Linked DNA regions of Homo sapiens: region 1 is linked to region 2. The links are contacts of gene promoters, found by promoter capture Hi-C in blood cells and fetal thymus (Javierre and others, 2016). All regions are on one chromosome and are shown on one strand. The core of a region is centred on a gene start or on the middle of the fragment in contact, and the rest is flanking DNA. Distances in the headings are between cores, read along the strand shown.

Region 1 (6,625 bases), core at 2,711-5,210, 140 kb before region 2:
ACCTGTCCTCCCACAGTTACTGCAGCACTATTCACAGTGGCCAAGATACGGAGTTAACCTAAGTGTCCATCAAAAGAAGAATGGATAAAGAAAATGTGGTACATATATGCAATGAAATACTATTCAATCATAAAAAAGAATAAAATTATGTCATTTGCAGCAACATGGATAGCACCGGAGGTCATTATCTTAAGTGAAATAAGCCAGGCACAGAAAGATAAATACTGCATGTTCTCACCAATATGTGAAAGAGAAATAAGTTGATCTCAGAGAAGTAGAGAACAGAATAGTGGTAACTAGTGGCTGAGAAGGGTAAAGGAGAGGATTATATATAGAGAGGTTGGTTAACACATATAAAATTACAGCTAGGTAGAAGGAATAATTTTTGGTGTTCTATATCACTGTAGGATGACTATGATTAACAATAATTTATTCCATATTTTCAAATAGCTAAAAGAGTGGATATTGAATTTTCCCAAAGCAATTATTACAGATTGTATACAGGTATCAAAATATCACACTGTACCCCATATATATGTACAATTATTATGTGTCAATTAAAAAATACATCCACAAATTTATTGATACTTCATAAAAAAAGGAGTCATCTAATCCCCTCTCCTTAGACACTGATGGCCTTAGTAACTAAGTTCTAATGAATTGACTATGGCTTAAAGTGACACTGCATGACTTCCACTGTGAGTTTAGAAAAAGCATTATAGCTTTCAACCAGATTTTTCTTCTTCGGGATGCTCATCCTTGGAACCCAGTTAGCATATTGTGAGGAACCAAATAGTGCTGTGGAAAGATCATGAGAAGGTGTTCTAGCCACAGCTTTGGCTAAGGACTAGGCCAACACCAGTATCAGTCACCAGACATGTGAGAGAAGGGGTCTTCAGATGATTCCAGCCCCAATCTTTTAGCTGCCCCAGCTGATGTGAAGTGGATAGTGGAACAGAGACAATCTGTTCCCATGAAGCTCTGCATAAATTACAGATTTGTAAGTAAAGTAAGGGTTGTAATTGTTTTAAACCATTGCATTTTGCAGATGGTTAAACAGCAATAGATAAAAGGAACAGGAAAAAAGAGTGCTGAATATTGGACAGTAGTTCAGAGCATATACTGCATCCTACAGGACAGTATCAAAAAGGGTTATCTCCCAGAAGGCACCATAGCTAAGTCTTCAATATATCTTCAATAAGACAAGATACTTCTCAGTGATTGAGTACACAATTAGACCAATAAATTCCATGGGCAATAGCCCATTGCATTACTTCTTTCATTGCAGAGTGAATTTCTTGGTCAAAAGCAATATAGTGTTAGAGAAAATGATAGTGTCTAAAGCACTGAGTAATTCCCTAGATGGTGGTGTCAGCGGAAGTACAGTGAGCAGGGAAAGCAAATCTCAATCTAGAATAAACATATTTTAGAGAGGACAAATAAGAACTCCCTCAATGATGGGGAGGGCCAATGACCAATGGAATAGACTTGCCTACATGTGACTGGCTGACCCTCCCAGAGCATGGGGTATTGGTCACTGCTTCTGAACACCCAGCGGTGGCTTGGTGATCCCATGCATAGCTCCAATCCTGTTGCCATTGCCATTGCCATTTATTTCATGATTCTACTGAGCAGGCAGTGAGGCTGAGTTTCATCACAAAGCAGTTCATTTCATCCATATGATTCTTAAGATTTATTCTGAGAGGTCCATCACTATATCCCTTCTGGAGTCTTCCTTGTCACTAGTTCTCCAGTCTTGCTCTTTCCATGTCCTTCACAAACTGGCCAAAAAATTATCCTCTGACCCTGAATTGACCATTTCTCCTTTCAGCCAAACTGAACATCAAAACATACTGGTGAAAATTCTGCCCACTGAAAGAACTTCACTATTTCAATATTTTTCAGGTCCAAAGCAGGACTACAACATATCAATTTCTAGCAAGTACCAGTATATTGTCCAGAGCAACATACCTGTATTGTATTTTGCACATCATAGGTGCTCAATAGACACTTAAGCAATTTTTAAAATACAGACATATTATTTCCCTACCTGTATTTCAACAGCTTCCCATTGGTCTAAAAGATCCTGCTGGGTATGGCCTCTGCATACTCCTTTCACTTCTCTGTACTCTAAGCCTTGACTCTCAGTTCCTGTAATGTTCCATGCTCTCTCCTGCTACAAGACCTTTGCTCAGACTGTTCCCTCTCCTTGCCTAGTTAACTCTTGACTCAAGATACTTCCTGTCTTACAATCATCTTTCTTCATAGTACTTATCTCTGTATTAATTCCTGTCTCATCCTGGGACTCTAAGTTCTATGACTATGTGCACTCACCACTGATTCCCCAACACCTAATATAGTGCCTGGCATATATGATATGCTAAATAATATTTTGTTAAATGAATGAATACATGAATCAGTGAATGAATAAGCCTGTAATGATGCAGTAATTTACCTATAAGTTATCACTGCCAGTTTTGCTTAAGAAGCTTTCTGCCATCACAATTTTTACTCATCTAATTCACATTTCTTTATTAATTTAAGAAGTATTTGTCAAGACAACTTTTCTAAGCATTACTTATATACTAGCACTATGCAACAGAAATTTGTGACCACATATGTAATTTTAAATATTCTAATATCCATGACAAAATTAATAAATTTTATTTAGCCTAATATACCCCCAAACATCATTTCAACATGAAATCAATACAAAAAATTATTAATGAGATATTTTACATTCTTTTCTTCAAACTAGTCTTTGAAATTTGGGGGTAGTTTACAATTACATATCTCAACTGGAACTAGCTATATTTCAAGTGCTCAAGAGCCACAAATGACTAGCAGATACATCATATGCTATATCCCACAGTGTAGTTCTATAGGATTCACTTTCACTAGAGAGGGTCTGATCACCCTCAGCTCTTATAATTAGTGGTCAGGAAAACCACCTTAAGTCAAACCTAACTGTTCCAGTATAAGAGATGATTTAAACTAGAATTGTCTCTGGGAACAATTTTAGCTGGTGTACCGTTTTCGCCTTCCTATAACATCTTTTTGTCTTGTTTTTTTTTTTTAAACTTTTAAGTTCAGGGGTACAAGTGCAGGTTTGTTATATAGGTAAACTTGTGTCACGGGTGTTTGTTGTACAGGCTATTTTGTCACCCAGGTATTAAGCCTAGTACCCATTAGTTATTTTTCCTGATCCTCGCCCTCCTCCCACCCTCCACCCTCCGAAAGGCCCCAGTGTGTGTTGTCCCCCTCTTTTGTGTCCATGTGTTCTCATCATTTAGCTCCCACTTATAAGTGAGAACGTGCGGTATTTGGTTTTCTGTTCCTTTGTTAGTTTGCTTAAGGATAAGGGCCTCCAGCTCCATCATGTCCCTACAAAGGACATGATCTCGTTCTTTTATGGCCCCACTTTTTATCCTTTTAATTTAAACGGATTCTTTGCTCCCCCTGAAGATGGAGGCCACCTCCTTTGCAAGGACTTCTATCTCTCCCCCTTTGAGGCCACGACATAATTCTCCGCATTTTTAGGTACTTAACAGTAAATCACTTGGTTCACTTGGTTCTCCTGCCTGCCTAGGAAAGGTCAGGAGATGGTCCAGCGCCATGTCTAGCACTGTTAATTCTTTCAGTGCTTTCGTTTTGCTTGGGCCTCTCGGGGAGGGCGCGGAAAAGAGCGCAAGCCAGGGTCTAGGACCACACAAGTGAATTCGTGTTGCTCCCTCAGCCCTGAAAAGTGGCTCTCTCCCCATCAGCATTATACTTGCACAGTGGTTTTGTTTTTAGGTGCATCTACCTCATCACATGGCTACCGGCCACACAGCAACTAACAGCACCGAGGAAACACAACAGCCTGTTTACCTTCAGCCCCGCCACTAACCCTTGGCCAAAGGGAAAGGGGCAGGACATCCTCCCGCTCTGAGCCACCTCCGGAAGTGACGTCGGAGTGTCAACATGCAAGATGGCGGCCCATCACCGGCAGAACACAGCAGGGCGGAGGAAAGTGCAGGTATGGAAGCCCGGTTCCTCGGTCTTCCGGACGCGGCCGGCAGCTCCGGGCCCACTCCAGCTAGAAGGTGCCCGGCGCCACGACCAGCTGGGGTAGCGGCATGGGGCGAACGGGGCGGGGCGCGGCCGGCCACGAGGGGTGGGGCCGCGGCGCTAACGGCTTGAGGAAGGGGCGGGGGTCGGCTTGCTTGGCCCTTGGGGCCCAGGCCCGGGACCCTCGTGGGCGGCATTCTGAGCCCGGGATTGCTTGTCGCCGCTCTTCTGTAGGAGTGGACTTGCGGGGTCGGGATAGGCTCGTTCCCCGCCCACTTGCCTCCCCCTTGCCCTGTCTTTCTTCGAAGCGCTCTGCCCTCGCTGCGTCGGAGCCGAGGCCTCCAGGGGTTTCCCAGGGGGGTGGGCGTTGGAGGAGTGAGCGGCTTGTGCGGGGGCGTGGCGAGGCGGCGGAGCGCCAACGGCCCTGCGGGGTTTCTGCTGAGGATTCCGCACTTGGGAGCCCCCAGCCCTCTCTTATGTGGGAGCTGTCCCCTGGGTAGGTTTAAGTGACATAAGAATGTGCGTGGGGAAATTATAATTTTAATTGTTTTGGTATTTAAGTTCCTCTTCACCATTTCTTCATCTTAAGTGTGCATCGCTGAATCTGTCTTTATTGTTTGTGTAATTTATTGTCCATGTGGTAAAGAGTTGTCTAATCTTACCGTGTGTGTCTTGTGCCTTATGCCTTTGTGAATTCACTTTTGTTTGCGGTTACGCTTAAGAGTTACTGCCACTTCGGGGAACATCACACACCGGGGCCTGTCGGGGGCTGGGGGCGCTAGGGGAGGGATAGCATTAGGAGAAATACCTAATGTAAATGACGAGTTGATGGGTACAGCAAACCAGCATGGCACACGTATACCTATGTAACAAACCTGCACGTTGTGCACATATATCCTAGAACTTAAAGTATAATAATAATATTAAAAAATAGTTATTGCCACTTAATATTTTCAGTGATGCAGGGAATAAAAGCCCTCTTACAGGTGTTTGCCTGCAGGTATATTGTATGTGGTAGTGGCAGTTTGGTGCATTTATTCATTAAACATTTACCTAGCACTTAGGGTGGCCCCCAAAGGGGAAAAGGGATTGAAAGGGTGTAGAAATAATTAACACCTAGGCTTTCTTTATAAAACACAGCATTATATGGAGTTCTGCGGGTTGAAATCAAGTGTCAGATAAAGGTAGTTAGATGAAGGGGTCCTTCAGTAAGGTAATCCCAGCAGAAGGTGGTAGGCCATAAAGTCTTCTGATTAGTTCACATCTTGGTTTTATTGATCTCACTGATCAGTACAGTGTCTTAAGCACTCACTGGATGTTTGTTGAAATGAGTGAAATTAATAAGTCTAAACTCACCCTATTAGGTGTTTTTCAGTGCATTAGTGATAGGATTTAAGTATCACCAGCATCCAAGGCAGGTAGTGAGAATGTCTCCTTGGGACTGAAATATAACTCAAAAAGTAACCCGATTGTATTATAGACTCTATGGTGGTGTACATCTTAGGAGAGTAAGGGTAGTTAATCAGGCCTTTCAGTTTATTGCATTAAGACTTAAAACTCCTATTACTGCAGTGTGTTCCCTGCTTGCTTCCTTCCCAGGCCTGCCCACTCCCAAAATGCATGCAATAAAGTATATATATTTTAAAAAGACTTACAAGGCAATTGTACTAGTATGGGATGGAGAAAATGTAAATTAACTGCAGCAGGTTTGGAAAAACAGTGTTCCAATAGGCTGAATGTGAGCCAGTGCACGTAGAATGAGGCAGGTGATAGATAATTCCACTTTTCACTGGTCAAAGTACAAAATTAGAGTTTGGTGTTCAGCACTTAGGACCTTGTTCTTCATAGGTAGCAATCAGATTGGTGAACTGACTTGAAATTATTTCCTATGAAGAACTTTTGAAAGAGCTGTCTTAGATTAACCTGCTGAAGAGAAGATTCAGGGAACTTTCGGAATTTGTCCCTAAGGTATAGAAGCAGCCTGAGAAGCCACAGGGATTGATTTCATCTGAACCATCATTGTCTATGAGGTGTTTTTTAAACTAATGCGTGTTCATTGTAAAAATCCCAACAAACAAAAACATAAATTAGAGTTGCCCTCCATGCTTCCAAGAAAGCTACTGCGGGCAATGTCATGTTTTAATCCTAGACCAGAGTTTATCAACCTGAACATTCTTGAAATTTCATCTGGATAATTCTTCGCTGTGTCTGAGGGAGGGAGCTGTCCTATGCATCACAGGTTCTTTGGCATCATCCCTGGCTTCTACCAACTAGATGTAGTAGCATCTCCCCAGTTGTGACAACTAAAAATGTCTCCAGACATTTTCAAATGTCCCCTCAAGGGCAAAATTGCCGCTGGTTGAGAACCGCTGTTCTATACCTCTTGCTGTTTGTGTACCTGACTTAACATATTTTTTTGCTATAAATGGAGCCATAGTATTCACTGTTTTGTGTCTTGCTTTGTCAAATTTTTAAATAAACATTCCCTTTAGCCCAGAATTCCTTATCTAAAAATATATTCTACAAAATTGCATATGCATGTATCTGTCCCTACTTATGCAAGGGTGTTGTGTGA
Region 2 (7,155 bases), core at 283-2,782:
ATCTCATGCGTTGCTAGGGAGTGACCATGGTACCACTGGACATGAGACACTTTCCTTTAGCTCCATAAGGGACGCATAAACCTCCAGTGGGCAAACTGGACATGCCCCATCCTCACCTTCCTTTGTTAAAAATCAGTGTTTCCCTGGAAGACTGCCAGGGGAGTGGCCTGGGGGAATCCTGACTTTTGGAGTCCCAGCCTTGGAGAGGCAGGTCTCTAAACTGGTGACTGATTTCCTATGGAGACGAGATTCCTTTGCAGAACACCAGAGGGCAGACTTGCCATGTTGACCTGGAACGCTGCCTAACTTTTACCTCTTGGCTGTCAACGCACTCCAACCTTTCCCAGGCCCAAGGAGGCAAGCAGAGGCCAACAGCCCATGCTAGAGCGGAAGCAGTTGAGAATCAGGGCTGGGAAGCTGCTCATCAGATATCTCGTGCTTAGGCCAGATCCAAATTCTGAATATCTGGTCAGGGTTTTCTGCATTATACTCGAAGACTGAGAATGTCTGAGCTAGGGGGATCTCAAAGGTCTTTTAGCACAATCATTTATAAATAAAGATGAGGGAACTTAGGCCCAGAGTCAGATCTTGGTGAATAAATGGAAGGCCGTGCTGGCTTGGGGTCCCTAGACTCCATTTAGGGCATGGCCCCAAGAAATAAGAGGGTAGCAGGTGTAAAGCTTTCTTATTGGCCATAGAACCCGTCTATTCCCCAGCAGGCACCCCTGGGAGGATATGAGGGTGACAACAACCAGGGAGAGGACCATGGGATCAGGGTCCTTTCTGCAGAGACAGCCCTGCCTCTTGCTCCTGGATACCGCTCTCTAAGCAAGCAAGCACAGCTTCAGGGGCTCGGACTCAGGGGGGCTTCAGGCTAAGCCCTACCCCTGCAGGCCTCATGGCCACCCCAGCTCAGCCTCTCCCCGGCTACACCCCCGCCCCTCAATGACCTACCACCCCTCAAGCCCTTCTCTGGTCTCTGTCCATGTATGTCTTATCTCTCTTGTGACAGGTGTACTAACAGTCCCCAGAGGCCAGTAGGGAAAGAATGGGAAGCACGTGCCCCCTCCTGCTGCCCCTGACCCACTGCTCTGCACCACACAGGGTGCTAAATATAGCTGAGGTCCTGGCCTCAGAACAGCAGCCCTGGGCTCAGAGGGAGGCTGAGGCCCAGCCAGTGGGGACCCTCAGTACCCTTGGCTCACCTCATCTCCTTCATTAGCCTGGGCTCCCCTATCCTGCCTCCTGGGCTGGTGTCAGGCCCCTGGGCTGCAGGCCAGCCAGGTGCTAGAACCTGGACACCTTCCCTGGCCAAAGGAGTCTGCACTGGGGGGAGGTACTGGAAGTAAGTGGGGCAGGACTTCCTCCCTATGGCTACCTCAGAAGGAGGAGAGAGGAAACTGAGACCTGCTGACCCCATGCCCACCCTGGCATGTCCACCAAAGACATCAGAACCTTTGGGGAATGTGAGCTCTGAAACCTGCAGCCTGAGTCTCATCAAAGCTCTGGGTGGTTTTCTTTCATTTCTGAGCTCCAATGAGGATCCCCTGCCCAAGGCAAACCTGAGCCTGTCTCCACCTCTACTCCATCCTGTCACCACCAGGGTGGCCTGAGCAGATGGTGTGTGCACACCATCAGCTTCACCCCACCCCCGCCCCCAGGAATTTCCAGAATCTCTGCTAAGGCCACAGACAGTTATTATCATGGAGTCCAGGGATGTCAGGCCTAAGGACCCTCAGAGGTCACTCAATCTAAACCCCTTATTGTTCAAATAGGGAAACAGAGGCCCAAAGAGGGGAAAGGAGCTGTCCAAGGAGGCTCAGCAAGGCAGTAGCAAAGCCTGAAGCATGTCTCCTGACTCCTGGCCTTCCCACCACCATCTTTGCCTGGCTTGAGACTGCTGGGACAAGTGTAGAGTCAGGACAGAATTCATAACTGGGACCAGACTTACGTGGGGTGAGCCCCAAGAACTGTCCTAGAGCTTGGTCTCCTAGGGCTGGGCCAGCCTCTCAGGATGGTCCCCCTGCTGTCCTCGGGTCACCTCCTCCTTGGCCCAGCTGGCTCCATATGTCTTTACATCTGGGCAAATTCAGATCTGGTCTCCCTCCCGTGAGCCCCCCAAATCTGCCCTGGGGGCTTTCCCACTGGGCAAGACTATGGACATGGGCAGAGTCCGAATTCCACCCCAGGTTTTAGGCTATGATATGTAGGGAGCTGGGCTCCGGCCAGCCCCTGGGAGCTATCCCTGGGCCAGATATGCCAAGAGTGTCATCCACAACAACTAGGCATGGGGCTTGTTCTAGCAATGCACACTCAGGCCTACTTACAGCCCCCTGCCCCCACCTCTCTCCTGTTCCTCCTTCCTCCAGATCCTGGGCCTGCCTGAAGCTTCCCTGGGAGGAAGCCCTGAAGCCTGAGGCACTCCATACCTGTATTTTAAAAATCACAACTCCAGGCCTTTCTGGATCATGCCAGCCTGGCAGGAGCCTATCCTTTCTGCTAGCTTCAGGCCTGTGGCAGCCACTCTGAGAGCTCCCATGGGGCTCACACTGTCTTTACCTCCTTTGTGGGTTCTTTATGTCTGAGACTTCCACTCACCTCCTCCCATGCATGCCCCTCAATCTCCTTCCCCTACTCAGAGCCATTCCTAATACGTCCATTTCAGAAGGAGAGGGGATCCCAGCTGTGAAAGCCAGCCTTGCTGTGGAAGGATGGAGAGGTAGGTTACTCACCAAGGGTCTCTCTTGGCTGATGGGGTGTTTGTGGTCTGTAGCAGCTGTGGTCTCAGGGTTCGTCGTTCCTCTGGAGGTTCTTGTTCAAATTGGTTCTGTTCTGCTGGCTCCAACAGACACCTTCTTGCTGCCCTGGCTCCAGGTCTCTGTCCCCTGCCAGCCCCAGCAGCTGCCTTTATCTTGCTGGCTAGTGGGTGGGCCGTGGTGGGGGCGGGTGGGAGAGGCTATGTTCCGAGTATTAAGTGGTTCGGTTATTTTTAGGTCTTGTGGAAGTCACTCTTCCATCCTGGGGAATCAGTTACATGTCCTTTGGGCTGGGGAGGGGAAACAGAGGGGGAGAAGCTTCATTCATCCAAAGTCTGATCTGGGGATTGGGGTCAGTGACTCAGCTGGGTTGTGAGGTTGGGGGTGTCCCAGACTATTTTGAGAGAGTGACTAAGAAGAGGCATCTGACACCTTGGACAGCTTGCTCCCGTCTTGTGAGCCCCCATCATTCTACTCTGGCCCTGCCTCTGACTCTTCCTGACGTGTCTCCACCCACCGTGCCAGGAGACTGGAGGTCTCCTGAGGGCAGGCTGGGCACCTCCTCCTCTGTTCTGAGCCTGGATACCTCTGAGTGTGATGCTCAGCTCTCTTTCTTCCCCATTCCCTTCTGCACTAAAGAGTTCCTTCTTTCTTATCCATTCCACCCTGTGCCCCACAGCACAGGTCAACACAGCCCCGATGAAGCTGGATTTGGGGGGAAGACATCTGAATGACCAGGCCCAGCTCTTCACTGGGCCGAGATTGGCCAGGCCCAGCTCCTCCTTTGCACCACTACACCCAGTTAATTTTTGTATTTTTAGTAGAGATGGGGTTTCACCATGTTGGCCAGGCTGGTCTCGAACTCCTGACCTCAGGTAATCCACCTGCCTCGGCCTCCCAATGAATGAATTCCACAGCAGGACTCTATGGTTTTCATTCCAGATTATCTGAGTCCTTTCTTCTCGACTCTTCCCTCTGACTCAGGGCCCAGGCTTTCTGGGAATGGAGGGGAGGGGAAGGGCGGCATGCAGGGAGCTGACCGTGGGGTTATTTCTGACCCTGGAGTCATCAGCTTCCCAGTCACAGATGGAGTGGCGGCGGGGGTGGGGGGGTCACACCTGCCTCCTCCTTTGCTTACCAGGGCGTGAGGGGCCCAGGAGGCCCAAGAGATCCTGGCAGTCAGACCAGTGTGGTGAAGGATGTCAGGGGACCATCTGCAAAAAACTCGAAAGAGGTGTTTTGTCCTAGGTGGGCCTGGCCCAGGCTCCATGCCTGTGGGTATGCAGGTGCATTCTGTGGCCTGGCACATGAGGTCTTCCTTCTGACTCCCCAAATGCCCTCTGGTACCAGGGGGTGATGCCAGACATTGCTCACTTTTTCCATGTAGTCAATGTCAGTCCTGCAGCGTCAGCTGGGATGGGGGTAAGGACATCTGGGAACCCCCTCTTCCTGGTCTCCCTCCCTCTTGTCTCTTCCCCTGCTCTTTTCTAGCCCTCTGCCTGTCCCCCAGGCTCCTGGCTCTCTCTAGGAAGGGCAGGGAGACCGATGTACCAGTGTTTCAGGGAAAGGGCAGCCTTAGGTTTCTCAGGATTTCTCCTGGGAGGAGCTTTCTCCCTGTGGGTACTGAAATTTCTTACTTTCTAGGATAGTTTTGAGAATTGAAGGAATTATTATATGAAAAGAGTGCCTCCAGCCAGGCACGGTGGCTCACGCCTGTAATCTCAGCACATTTCGGCAGGCTGAGGCTGGTGGATCACTTGAGGTCAGGAGTTCGAGACCAGCCTGACCAACATGGTGAAACCTTGTCTCTACTAAAAATATAAAAAATTAGCTGGGTGTGGTGGCACACACCTGTAATCCCAACTACTTGGGAGGCTGAGGCAGGAAAATTGAATCTGGGAGGCAGAAGATGCAGTGAGCTGGGATCGCACCCCTGCACTCCAGCCTGGGCGATAGAGCAAGACTCTGTCTCAAAAAAAAAAAAAAGTGCCTGAGAGTACTTAGCACATAGCCTATGCTTTAGAAGAGCCAGCTATTATACTGTATATAATATAAAAAGAGAAAAGCCCCTAGGTGGAACTCACTTTTGTACTCACCTCCTGTGATAACTCATGGGAGAAATTCCTCAGGCCTCAATATTAGGAAAGAGGCTCTTCCTGAGCACTTGGTTTCTTTGTATCTAGTACAGCTGTGCTGTCCAATAGAGTTGCCACTAGCCAAATGAGGCTATTTAAATTTAAGTACATTAAAATGAAATAAAATAAAAACTCAGTTATTTCACTACACTAGCCATATTTGAAGTGCTCCATAGAGACAAGTGGCTAGCAACTATTATATTGATTTTGTTTGCTTGTTTGTTTTTGAGACGGAGTTTCGCTCTGTCGCCCAGGCTGGAGTGCAGTGGCGCGATCTCGGCTCACTGCAACCTCCACCTCCCGGGTTCAAGCGATTCTACTGCCTTAGCCACCCGAGTAGCTGGGATTACAGGTGTGTGCCACCGTGCCCAGCTAATTTTTGTATTTTTAGTAGAGATGGGGTTTCACCATGTTGCCCAGGCTGGTCTCAAACTCCTGACCTCAGGTGATCCACCTGCCTCCGCCTCCCAAAGTGCTGGGATTACAGGCATGAGCCACCGCACCCAGCCTGAAACTATTATATTGAATAGTGCAGAATGTTTGCATTATTTCAGAAAGTTCTACGGATAGTGCTGTTATAGATGTTAAAATAAATAAGAAAATAAATTTTTCTGGAAGGAGAATTGTCAATAGAATAAACAATTTTTATGACATATGGTGTTTCTCTTTGACTTGGCTGCTAGGAAACTCAGAGCTAAATTTTTAACCTAGCAAGTAGACTTTATGGTCCAAATCCTGTGTAATGAGGGTGACCAACTTTTTGTTGTCTGTCTCTGAGGAGTTTTGCAAGACAAGGGATGTTCAGTTTTAAAACTGGAAAAGTTCTAACAAAACCAGGACAAGCTAGTCACTCTATGTGTAATGATCTAATGATATCACATCATCATGGTATTAATTATGAGGCTGTCAAGATAGTAAACTAGGCATTATTTACTGGAGTATCTTTAGTGGTATTAAGAAGGTAAACTGAGGCACAATAAATTTTTTAAGAGTTTATTTGTGCAAACAACAATTTTTGAATCAGGCAGTCCCAAACCAGAAGTGGCTTGGGAACTCTACTGAGGGAGCACAAGCGGGAGGTTTTTATAAGACAGATACAGAAGTAAAGCAAATATAATATTTGATTGGTTACAGTTATACAGTTGCCTTATTTGATCTATCCCATTGGAAAGTCCCTGGTTATATAATTATTTGTGCTGGCTGCTTCTCATTAGTTGCACTTAAGTTTTATTTTTCTTTAATATAGGCATTTACAAGAAATAGCTCAAAGGCAGGCATGGTGACTCACACCTGTAATCTGAGCACTTTGGGAGGCTGAGGTGGGAGGATCACTTGAGCCCAGGAGTTGGAGACCAGCTTGGGCAACATAGCGAGACCTCATCTCTACAAAAAATAAAAGAAAATATTAGCTGAGTGTGGTGGCATGCAATTGTTGTCCCAGCTACTTGGGAGGCTGAAGTGGGAGAATCGCTTAAGCCAGAAAGGTGGAGGCTGCAGTGAGCCGTGATTATGCCACTGCATTCCAGGCTAGGTGGCAAAGTGAGATCCTGTCTCAAAAAAAAGAAAAGAAAAGAAAAAAGAAAGAAGGAAGGAAAGAAGGAAGGAAGGAAGGAAAAGGAAGAAAGGAAGGAAGGAAAAAGAAAGAAAAAGGAAGGAAGGAAGGAAGGAAAGAAGAAAGGAAGAGCTCCAGTTTTGCATGTCTGCAAATCAAGCAAGGGTAAGGTCCCTTACGAGACCTAACTTGTTTTGCCTGCTCAGGGATGCTTCAGGTCTGAGCTCCATTTTTTTAACAGTGGAGATACTGTGCATCTATTTCTTTAAGCTCTCTCAAATCATTTTGGGAACGAGGCTGGAAATAAATAAATATCCTGAGGTTGAACAGCTGATCTTTGCCAACAGGCAGAGAGGTGCTCGGGGAGGGGGTATGAGGGAAGGGTGGTTCCCTTCCAGCTATCGCAGTCCTCTCTTTGGGAGCCTACTGGTTTTTAGGGTCCAGGGCATCATCTCCTACCAGCCCCTCCCTCCAAGTAGGGCTCCATCAAAGTTGGGTTTGGGCAGAAATTCACGCATAAATCATGAAGGAGCCGAGTAAGTAGCTGGCAGTTGACTCACTTCAAGTTTCAGGAGAGACAGGATTCGAGAATGATAGGAGCCAGACTGCTTGAGGCTGAATCCTACCTGTGACACTTAATAGCTGTGCAACTCCTGGCTACCCTGGCACTGGCTGGCAGTCCTGGCTTCCTGCTGGCTGGGAAGCAGGCACT

Evidence for each region. The method cuts DNA at HindIII sites, captures the fragments that hold promoters and counts their contacts. A CHiCAGO score of 5 or more calls a contact.
Region 1: the fragment with the promoter of WDR48 here is called in contact with a fragment that was not itself captured in region 2 in 1 of 17 cell types (neutrophils); the score reaches 5.4 in neutrophils.

Annotation. Positions count from the first base shown.
Region 1 is chr3:39,048,056-39,054,680 of GRCh38, forward strand. It overlaps WDR48 (WD repeat domain 48), which reads left to right and starts at 3,961. Exons shown (of 19, transcript NM_020839.4): 1 at 3,961-4,018. The coding sequence starts at 3,971. SCN11A (sodium voltage-gated channel alpha subunit 11) reads right to left here and starts at 3,889. Exons shown (of 30, transcript NM_001349253.2): 1 at 3,806-3,889. RefSeq lists enhancers at 3,122-3,994, 3,665-3,754, 3,765-3,814, 3,835-4,024 and a silencer at 4,065-4,164. The HindIII fragment of the contact is 5,994 bases long and covers 2,488-6,625 here.
Region 2 is chr3:39,189,714-39,196,868 of GRCh38, forward strand. It overlaps XIRP1 (xin actin binding repeat containing 1), which reads right to left and starts at 2,882. Exons shown (of 2, transcript NM_194293.4): 1 at 2,733-2,882. RefSeq lists an enhancer at 1,653-2,642. The HindIII fragment of the contact is 1,708 bases long and covers 679-2,386 here.